3 separate regions of the Homo sapiens genome follow, and regions 1 and 3 are each linked to region 2. The links are contacts of gene promoters, found by promoter capture Hi-C in blood cells and fetal thymus (Javierre and others, 2016). All regions are on one chromosome and are shown on one strand. Each heading gives the region's core, a stretch centred on a gene start or on the middle of the fragment in contact. The rest is flanking DNA. Distances are from core to core; before and after follow the strand shown.

Region 1 (3,536 bases), core at 98-2,597, 290 kb before region 2:
AGCCAGGCGTGGTGGCAGGCGCCTGTAATTCCAGCTACTAGCTACTCGGGAGGCTGAGGTGGGAGAATTGCTTGAAACCAGAAGGCGGAGTTTGCAGCACAAAAAGGGAAAGGGGAAGAGGAAGGGGAAGGGGAAGAGGAAGGGAGAAAGAGAGAGAGAGCAAGAGAGAAAGAGAGGAAGAGAAGAAAAGAAAGAAAGAAAGAGAAAAAGAGAAAAGAGAAAGGAAGGAAGGAAGAAAGAGAAAGAAAGAAAGACGAAAGAAAGGAAAGAAAGAAAGGAAAGAAAGAAAGAAAGAAAGAAAGAAAGAAAGAAAGAAAGAAAGAAAGAAAGAAAGGAAGGAAAGAAAGAAAGAAAACAGCACACTGAAGCACAGAGAGAAAAGCAAATAGAAGCACAGGACACAGCAGAAGAGATGTGGGACATAACTAAAAGATCTAGTACAGTGCCGTCCAATACAACCTTCTGTGATGACTGACATGTTCTATGTCTGTCCTGTCCAGTTGGTTTGCCACTAGGTGCCTTTTGAATATTTGAAATGTGGCAAGTGAAACTGAGAAACTGAGTTTAAAATTTTATTTTTAAGCAGGGTGCAGTGGCTCACGCCTGTAATCCCAGCACTTTGGGAGGCCCAGGCAGGTGGATCATCTGAGGTCAGGAGTTCAAGACCAGCCTGGCCGACATGGCAAAACCCCATCTCTACTAAAAATACAAAAATTAGCCAGGCATGGTGGCGTGCACCTGTAATCCCAGCTACTTGGGAGGTTGAGGCAGGAGAATCACTTGAACCCGGGAGGCAGAGGTTGCAGTGAGCTGGGATCATGCCACTGCACTCCAGCCTGGGCAACAAGAGTGAAACTCTGTCTCAAAAACAAACAAACCAAAAATTTTATTTTTAATTAATTTTTTTATTTGTATAAATTTAAAGGATACAAATGCAATTTTGTTACACGGATAGATTGCATAGTGGTGAAGTCTTGGAGCTTTCAGTGTATCTATCACACCATAATAGTGTATACTATACCCACTAAATTTAATTAGCCAGATGTGGCTACTGACTGTCCTGTTGGGTAGTGTAGTTTTAACACAGGCATACTTAGAGTTCCAGAGGAAAGGAGAGAGAAAATGGGACATGATAGACTCTAAGGATAAGAAGGATATACTACTCCTTCTAGAGTAGTATATTGAACATTGATTCCCTAACATCCAGTTCACCCCAGATCATTTGTTCAAACCAGTCATACTAATTTCACTCCCCTTTTTATTTACATGTTCAGGATTGGGCAAGTCTTAATGAGTATGAACCAACGAAATTGAGGAGAGATTTGCTTAGAGCTTCTGGGAAACAGAAGTCAATGTCTGTGTTTCTCCCTCCTTCTCCTGCTACCCCTATCACTTGGGGAAGAGTGAAGCATGTTGCTCTGTTACAACTGGCAGCTGTCTTAGAACCATGAAGGGAAACAGCCTTGCAAGGAAGTTCTCGGCCAAACAGTGAGATCTCAGCAGAGGAGTGAGATAGAAAGAATCCTGAGTGCCTGAAGATGGGCTCGCACTGATTCATCAATCTTGAAGCTCACATCATTGTCTCTGAATGACTACTTAAAATGTGAAATAATACATTTCCTTGATATTTAAGCAAATTTTACTGTCTTCTGTTTCTTGAAGCCCAAAGCATTCTGATACCAAGAGTCACACCCTCATGATGTTTAGTGTGATTGTTCATTCACTTATTGAGCACTCGTATTCCAGACATTGGGTTAGACACGGGTGATAAAAGATCAAGGCCACGGTCTAGTGAGGGGGACAAACACATTCCATATTCTGTTAATGTTAATAAAATGTGAAAAATACTATAAGAGACGTATACTGTGGGCTGACAGTAGAGGAGCACTTGGTCCAACTTGGCAGAGATAGGGTTAGGGAAAAGCATGGATGGCTTCTGGGTGGCAACACCTGGACAGCACTTGAAAGACAACAGGATTTCATCAGGCAAAGAAGGTGTAGTTTGCAAGGGCATTTTAATCAGAGGAAATAGCTTAAGCAAAGGCCTGGAGGTTTAAAGCAGCAGCATAAAATGAGGGATTGTAAGAAGCCATAGTAGGAGATAGGGAGATACCAGATCACAAAGGGCAAAAGATGCATTGGGGAACCACTGGAGGGGAGTGATAGCTCAGATTTGCTTTTAACTACGAAGTGAGTGTCTAGACTGAGACCCTCCCAGATATACAGGCATTTATCTCATTGCAAAGGGGAGACCAAGCCAGCCTTGATCTCATAGAACAAAAACCAACTAGCACATTGCAGACTTCTCACCAACTGATGGTCTCTGCCTCCGCTTTCTCCTCCATTTTGTTCCCTCTCCCATCTTTTTCACACAAACTATTCAAATGTCTGGGTCAAAGAAGATAAAGATCATAATATGATAATATATGAAAAGTTCTGAGTATAGCATATGATACATAGCAGATCCAGAATGTATGCTAGTCTCTTTCCACTTCCTCTGGGTTCAGACAAGATAAACTGGCAGTCACAACAAGTAGTTGCTGTCTGATTAGAGAAACTAAGACTGCGAAACTTCATGCTAAAATCACACACTGTTCTTGACAGATGAGCTGCAGTTCAGCAGCTGTCTGGAGAAGCACACACTCAATGCTAAGCCTTAAAAGGCCACTCTCCTCGCACTTGCCCTCCTCAAGTTAAGTGATGTAATAAAAAATCTCACCAAGTCATTAATATAAATATTTTCAGACTTTAAATAAGGTGTTTTTGCATTTTATTTCCAGCCTATGAGCCTGGATGCACTTTATTCCCTGCAGCACTGGCAACACACTCATTACCCTCCTGTGGGGAAGGAATGGTCATCCAGGAGCCAGCAAGTCAAGCAGATGAGAAACAGAACTAACCAAGCCAGGAGTCAGCCCAGACAGCCCCGGGATATTGACTCTGAGTGGCCAAATTCCTTCCATTTGAACCACAAATGCTGATAAAATATTTTCAGGAACACAGTGAGGGAATGTACTTCACTCACTTCCCAAAATGTAGACTTGAAGAGGTCAAATCCTATTTAATCCAGGCTGAGAAAATAATGCCCAACTTTATCCCGGAGCTAAATTTAGACATAAACTGAGATCTGGCCCTTGGCAAGTTAATTTAGATGAGCTAATGGTTGTTCCTGGCATAAGGGATACACTCAATAAATGGTAACTATTATTGTTACTGCAAAAATGGAGTGTCTGTTGGATGTTCTCATCTAGTCCTCCCACACATCCTAAAATCGGCTGTGCCAATCACTTGCACATCTGGGAACAAAGCTCCACATGAGGCTAAGGATGAGGCAGCTCTTTCTTTGGGAGCCCCTCTCTGGGAGGAGGCAGGCTTCCCTGTGGGAGCCCTTCTCTTGGGGAGAAGACCACCACCTAGCTATGCTGGTATGTGCTAGGTGGGCCTGACCTTGAGCTTAGGAGGAGGACTAGGCACCCCATTTTGCCCCTTCTCCCCTCTTCCAGCAGCAGCCTCTGCAATGGGGCTCAGACAGGTAA
Region 2 (3,647 bases), core at 929-3,428:
TTCCTGAATTATGTTATTATCATTTTCCTGTAAAATTGTATTCTCTTGACTGTATCCTGTTATATTTATTGACTAACAGATCAAGGATAATCTAACCTAGGCCTCTCAACCTGGCCTCCTACAGACAGACATCAAATCGCCTCAGTCAGACAGTCCCATGAAATTCCTCCCTTGTGTTTAACTTGCTACACTAAAATTCTATTCTGTTTCATCTCCCATCTCTAGCTGCTAGTGCTTTGTCTGAAAAACCCCTTCTTCTGCACAAAGATCATTATTATTCACTCCTGTCAGCATTATTTACTCTGCATGAAAGCAGGAAGAGATTGGCACACCTTTATCCCATGTGCATACAACAGAACAGACCCCAGTGGCCAGAGCATTCTTGTTATCCTGGAAGATGCACCTGCAGCCCTCAAGCCTCCAGCCTCCCCCTCCCAACCTAAGGCACACCCTGTTTGTCAAGTGCCTATACCAACACCTGGCAGCCCCTCCACAGAGGCCTCAGAAAGGCAGGTGATAGCTAGTGACTAGGTTTCTTTCATCCCCAGATCTTGCCCTGTGGGCAGTGGCCATCCCCAGACCATCCAGGATTCTCCAGGTGTGCAAGGACCTACAGGATTTTGACAAATGCCAGCAGAGTGGCCTCTTTACAAATGGATGACAACAGGCTGTGAAAAGCTTTCTGCATGCGTAACCCAAAAATCTAGTTCCCCCACTTGTTCACTGATGCTTAAAATTGCTTTAGGGAGAGACAAAGGCTTTCATCTCACAAACAGAGAAAGCTTTGAAGGGCCTGGGTGAACTAATCTATTTAGACTAATACACACTGTTGTATAAATGGAATGAAGGATTAGATGATGCAATGGGCCCCTTTAAAATAGGTGTGAAGTGACACGGGATGTAGCAGAGAAAGATGGGGCTTTTCTTGCCTCCTTGGGTGCTTAAAACGAACAGTCTTGAGACCAGGTGCGGTAGCTCAAACCTGTAATCCCAATACTTTGGGAGACCAAGGCAGGTGGATCACTTGAGCCCAGGGATTCAAGACCAGCCTGGGCAACATGGCAAAACCCCGTTTATAAAAATATAAAAATTAGCCTGTCATCGTGGCAAGCACCTGCAGTCTCAGCTACTTGGGAGGCTGAGGTGGGAGGATTGCTTAGACCTAGGAGATTGAGGCTGCAGTGAGTCATGATTACCCCATTGCACTCCAGCCTGGGCAACAGAGCAAGACCCTGTCTCAAAACACACACACACACACACACACACACACACACACACACACACACACACACACAGTCTTGAAACCGGAAGACCTGGAGTAAAGTTGGGCCCTGAGCCCTACTGCCAGCTGTTCGATCACAGGCAAAATTACTCGAAGCCTTGAGCCTGTTTTTTATTTCCAAAGCGAAGGTAATACCTACCTTCAGAGTTTACTGTGAAACTTTGATGTCATCATGTTTGTAAAAGTGCCCTGGCACAGTGACCACATTCTACCCTATAAATATTTTCTATCTTTCCCTGTTGTCCCCAGGCATCTCAGGCTCTGTTCCTATCCACTCCATGCCCCTTTCTTAGCATTATAAGGTCAAGAGTGAGGAATCTGGGACCACGCAACCCAGATTCAGATCCTGACTCTGTCACTTGCTGACTGTCATCTTGGACAAGTTTAACCTCTCTGTGCTCAGTTCCCTCATCTGTAAAAATGGGGATAACAATAGTACTTGCCTCATGGGGTGACAGTAAGGATGAAATGAGTTCATGTGTGTAATGCACTTAGAACAATTCCTGGCACCAAAAACTCATTGTAAGAAGTGTTGTTACTATGATTCCTGAGGAATTCTCACCTGTCCACTTTCCACAAGCCGAAAGATCAAGCTCCACTTCTGCCCTCTCACCTACAAAAGCGCACCGTCAATGGCTACACATTCCGCCCCACCCCCAACGCCCCCAGCCCGGGTTTCCTAACGTCCCCAGCCCAGTCCTTAACCCTCCAGGCCGTCTGGTCCTTCCACCACCAGCAAAGCCCAAAACAGCTTTCAGCGTCCCCTAGCAGCGCCCTAGCGGGACCCTGGGAACCCGCCGCTGCAGGAGAGGCGGGGCGGCTCTGTGACGTCGCGCCCGGCGCTACCCCTGGTGACCTGGCAGCGGAGCCCGCGCAGGGTTTGCCAGGCGAAGGCGGAGCGCTAACGTCTAACGCTAACGGCGGTCGTGCCCCGCCGCTGCTGTCACCCCCGGCCGCTGCTGCCCTCCCCGCCGAGGTTCTACTGCTCTCCTTCTTAAGAAGGGTGGGAGGCACTCGGTCTCTCCCCACACCTCTCGCCTGAGGCCAGGCGCCAGGTGTCGCCTGAAGCCAGACAGCCGGTTTGGGAGCGAGCCTGAGGTAGCCACCCCGAGGGGAAGTGGAGGGAGGGCAGGGCTCTGAGCGCCCCGAGGGCTGCGCTGGTCTGAGGGAGGAGCCCTGCCGGACGCCCCCTGGATTCTGAGCCTCTCCTTGTTCACAGGGCAAGGGGAAGGCAAGGGGATCTTCAAGAGAATGTGACTGTGGGGGATTATGGCTTTCTGGCCAATTTGTGTGCGTATTTTGTACCCAGAATACTATTATACGGTTTCTTACCCGGAGGACAGTGGTTGGGAGGCTCAAGAGTTTGGAATCAGAGCCCTCCACCGAGGAGCCACACCTCTGCTTTTTCATCAGCGACAGGGATATAAAAATACCTCTGGGTGAATTGTCATGTGGATGTCATGGGCATACCTAGCACTTCATAGACTCCTATCACACATTATTTTATACCTAGCACTTCATAGACTCCTGTCAGGCATTATTTTATACCTGGCACTTCATAGACTCCTATCACATATTATTTTATACCTAGCACTTCATAGACTCCTATCACGCATTATTTTATACCTAGCACTTCATAGACTCCTATCACGTGTTCATTTTATAGCTAGCACTTCATAGACTGCTATCACGCATTCATTTTTACTAGTACCTATTGAACACTAAGTTCCAGGCACTGGGCTAGGCACTGGGATGGTGTGGTGAGCAAAAACTGACCAGTCCTGCCGTGGAGTTTGCTGGGGGAGACACATGTTACTCAAAGAATCACACTAAGGATAGGTAAGTGATGCTCTGGAAGGGTATGTACAATGGAACTGACAGGGTAATCAGGGAAGGTTAAGCAGACCTCCAAAGGAAGAATCAACCTGTTAAGAGGAGGAGAATGTATTCCAAACAAGAGTAACCACATCCCAAACCCACCATCTCCAATTCCAAACCCAAACAGGGATGTGCAGTTGCCTGTGCTTGGTTCCAAGTGATACTCATAGAAACCCTCTGAGATTCTGCCCTGGAGCCTTTCATTCATGTTACTGGAGACTTTCATTTATGAAACGGAAGCCCTGTTTAGCCCATACCAATAAAACCAAGTGAGAGATCCCTGAAACAAGGCTATAGTCTATTTTAAGACCTACATTCTTCAGCACTTGGCAGGTATATGTTGGCCTCCATTTTACATTGAGAGGCATGTAGGTTTCACTTAGGAGGAAATGCATTGAATTGAAAGAGTTGGGGTTATGGATAAGCTCTGGAATGTATAATTGAAGAAGACCTACACTATCAAGAGATTTAAAAATGGAAAATAACT
Region 3 (3,840 bases), core at 886-3,385, 280 kb before region 2:
TTATATTTAATACATAAATTGGGATCACACTTATACAGAGAGCTGAAGATCTCGATTTCATCATTTAAAAATACCTAGAGACATTTTTCAATATGAGCTCTTAAAAGACAGAAAACCATGATATCAGACATTGTAAAATTCACAGGTTACTGAGAGATGTCATGGCATCCCTAAGAACAGTATTGGCCATTTAAATATAAGTTATATCCAGAAAACTCATAGGAAGAGAGCCTATTTTATTCTTCTTAAAGCACATATAATAGTAAACTCTTCTTTCTTCTCTTTAGCTTAAAGAGAATCTAGGAAAGATACCTTTGTATCCTCAGCAAAGAGGCACTATATGCAATTTTCCTTTTTTACATTCTCTTATCTTACTTTTCCCTGATAAGGGGAAAGCTTTGAAAATTCACTGCTGGAAAAAATGGTGTCTTACTCAAGAAAGTGCTTAGCAGCTGAAGAGAAACCTTTGGAAACAAGTGGGTATGGCAGGAAGAGCCCTGGACTTAGAAACAGAAAAATGCTGGATTCAGATGTCAGCTCTGTCACTGTAGACCCAAGATCAAAGAACATCCGTTTCCCTGCATGTCAAGAGAGATGCCACCACTCAACCCATAAGGATCAAAGGATTATGCAGATTAAATAAGACTGTGTGAAAGTGGTTTGTCAATGGTAAAATACATTGCAGGGCCATAATCACTAATTAATATTATAGTGGCTGTTAACAGTACTGTTTTTGTTCCTTAGCTGGCTTGAGCCACTCATTGCAGGCACTCGGGGCAGCTTCTAACAGTAGGTAAAAGCAGGGACCCTGGAGCCAGACTGCACTTCCCAGCTTGGTGAATTCTTTAACCTTTCAGTTTCTTCATCTGTAAAATGTGATTATAATAGTACATCTACCTCTCAGGACTCTTGAAAGGATTAAAATGAGTAAATTTACACACAGTGCTTAGAACAATACTGGGCACATAATACACACTATATAAGGGTGAGCTTAAAAAAATTACATTAGCTAAAACTAGTAGGCACACTGTTTTAAAGCTTTCCAGGAAAGTACTATCATTAATCAGAAAGTTGGATGAGCAACCTCTGCTCCCTCACCCCCATCCCGGCTCAGGTTTGGCCTGTTCCCTTCCTACCTTCTCAGCATCCTGCTCGAAGAGCCGCAGCTGAAAGCACTGGTCCAGCTTGAGCTTGCGCACATGCCACATCTGGTGCAGGTGCTGCCGGGTGGAGTGCAGCTTGTCCAGGAGACTGGTGATCTTGGGCACCAGGCTCTGGAAGTCAGCACTGCCCGGGATGCAGTTGCGTCCTGAGAAGCCGTCGCTGCAGCGGATGCACTGCAGCAGCCGCTGCCCCTCCCGGTCCAGCTCCTCCACAGGGGCCTTCAGCACCTTTTTCTTGAGCTGTGTGTGTTCGTCAATGAGCCGCCGAGAGCCCTCCACATCCACAGGAAACTCCTTCCGGGCTAGCATCTCCTGGAGGTCCTCGAGGCGCGAGAGCAGGTGCACGGCGCTGTTGAAGAACTCCTCCAGGGAGAGCCGCAGTTCGATCCACTCCTCATGGTTGTAGTCCAGGGAGCCATCAAACTCCTCCGTCAGCTGGGAGGGGTCCACCAGCTTTGTGAGGCCCTCCACAGATACCATGCTCGTCTGGAAGGGGCAGACACAGACAAGGATACTCAGTGATGTCAGGGGAAGAACAGGGCAGAAATAGGATGAGGGAAAGGACAAGATAAATCCACATAATAATGACCACAGCCTGCCTCGGAAATGGTGAGTGGAGGCCATGGGACTCACTGGTCAGGAGTCACAGATCAGTCAGGATCAGCAGTTTCTACAGACTGCTGACTGCTTTAGCAAGCCTCTACAACTGCCAGCCATTTACCACCCCAGAAGAACTGCTTTTGTGTCCCTCCTCTCCTCATTTTCCCTCCTCCTGACCCCAGTTCACTTCAAAAGGGCTTCAGAGGCTAGAAGCAGAAGCTGGAAGAAAAACTGACCTAGTTTCTGGGGGACAGTTTTCCACAGCTTTAAAACCAAGGCCCGTGGACCCAGGGTATCATCATAGTTGGATTAAGCAACATGGGCCAGTGCTTGGGCTGCAAAGATTTCACAGTCTTATCTTTTCCAAGGCTCTCCCTTTTAGCTCTTCTGTGGTATGGTGAACAGAACTAGGGATGGGCAACAGGGGAGTCTGCGCCCTTGGTTTTCTCTGTGAGGCCCCTACAAGCTCCTGGAGAGCGGACTGGAGAATGTTTGTCTCCAGGAAGGAAAGTGTCTCCAGCAAATGATGATGCAGGCAACCACCTTAGTTTATTAGTAAACATCTTTTCCTTCCTATAGGGCTTTAGGCTTCTCTTCTTTCTCATGAAGAATGAGAGGCTAGCAAATTAATATCTGTGTTTGGGTCCCAGCCCTATGCTTATTAACTGTGTGACCCAGGGCAAGCTATTAAGGTCTCAGAGCCTCAGTCTCCTCCTCTGTGTAATGGAGATAATTATTCCTTCCTCATGGGGCTTGCAGAGATTAAATGTATCAATGTGTGTAAAGCACATAGGGTGCATAGCATGGAGTACATGCTCAATCCCTGTTAGTGCTCACTCTGATGATCTGAAGGCTGCATCATTACTCAAAACCTGAAAAGCAATTTATCTCTCTGTGTCTTGCCACTCTCTGAGCATCCCCTCTTTGTTCCTTCTCTTTCCACCCCTCTCCTAAGAGGAAGGAAGGAGGTGCCATAGGCAGGAGGACTGGTCTGGAACAATGGTTGTCAAACTTGACTGCTCATTAGAATCCTTTGGGGAGTGTGCAAAAATACCAATGCTCAAACCTCATCCCTAGAAATTCTGATTTAATTGGCTAAATGGGAGCTTGGACATCAGTAGGTTTAAGAGTCCCTCAGATGATTCTAATGTGCAAGTAGAGTTGCAAACTCCTGCTAATCTCCATCCTTGCTACTCAAAGCATAGCTCTCAGACCAGCAGTATTGGCATCACATGGGAGCTTGTTAGAAATGCAGAATCTTAGGCCTTACCCCAGACCTATTGAGGCAGAATCTGCATTTTCAAAATCCCCAGGAGATTTGTGTGCATTAAACTTGAGAAACCCTATTCCAAAGTACTTTCTCCTTCAAATTTGGCTCAAAGTTTACCACTTCCGGGAAGTCCTCCATCATTATACTTACCAATTATTATATATCTGTTGTATAAGTATCTGTTGTTGAACAAGCTTATACTCTCATCTCTGTATCACTTGTCACCCCAGTCTGCACTAAGTATTAAATTCACTGTTTTTAAGATACTGCCTTATAAATATTCCTTTGATTGGGAGGCCCCCAGCTATCTCTCCTATCCTCTTATTTAGGAGGCAGAGACAAGCTTGTTCAACTTAGAGTGAAAGAGGTACAGAGAGATGGGACATGCAGGCCAGCAATGCTGAAGCAGAAGTATCAAGACTTACTGAAAAGATGCTTTTCAGTCTCTTCAGCTTATACATCTATAGGCTTGTTGTCACCACCTCTGTATAAACAAGCCAAAATATAGAAAGCATTTCCCTGCAGGACTTCTAGTGTTCTGGAGGGGTGCCAGGAGACTATAATAGGTCACTGTTTTTATACCAAGCCAAATTTCTTGTATTGTTTACACAGAGTGAGAATCGCCTGCATCAAGTGTCAGGTCATTGTGCTCAAATCACAGCCTATTTGACACCACACACAGGCGCTCCTGGCCCCCAGGGCACAAAAGTCTGGAATGGGAAGCTGCTGAAAGATTAAAAGCAGCTCTGTGTTTTCAACACACACACATTTAAAAGTTCATCCCCTTGCAGATGAGGACTAGAATTC

What was found. The method cuts DNA at HindIII sites, captures the fragments that hold promoters and counts their contacts. A CHiCAGO score of 5 or more calls a contact.
Region 1: a contact is called between a fragment that was not itself captured here and the fragment with the promoter of ROPN1 in region 2, in 2 of 17 cell types (endothelial precursors and M1 macrophages). The highest score is 7.0, in endothelial precursors.
Region 3: a contact is called between a fragment that was not itself captured here and the fragment with the promoter of ROPN1 in region 2, in 1 of 17 cell types (endothelial precursors). The highest score is 5.0, in endothelial precursors.

The regions. Positions count from the first base shown.
Region 1 is chr3:124,282,881-124,286,416 of GRCh38, reverse strand. The region is part of intron 5 of KALRN (kalirin RhoGEF kinase); the gene reads right to left. Among named protein-coding and RNA genes, the nearest start is that of MIR6083, 90 kb to the left of the region's middle. The HindIII fragment of the contact is 4,470 bases long and covers 1-3,536 here.
Region 2 is chr3:123,990,655-123,994,301 of GRCh38, reverse strand. It overlaps ROPN1 (rhophilin associated tail protein 1), which reads left to right and starts at 2,178. Exons shown (of 6, transcript NM_001317774.2): 1 at 2,178-2,380. RefSeq lists an enhancer at 1,890-2,406. The HindIII fragment of the contact is 3,137 bases long and covers 785-3,647 here.
Region 3 is chr3:124,266,552-124,270,391 of GRCh38, reverse strand. KALRN (kalirin RhoGEF kinase) reads right to left here. Exons shown (of 60, transcript NM_001388419.1): 5 at 1,137-1,649. Among named protein-coding and RNA genes, the nearest start is that of MIR6083, 110 kb to the left of the region's middle. RefSeq lists enhancers at 348-1,118, 3,430-3,840. The HindIII fragment of the contact is 2,189 bases long and covers 1,041-3,229 here.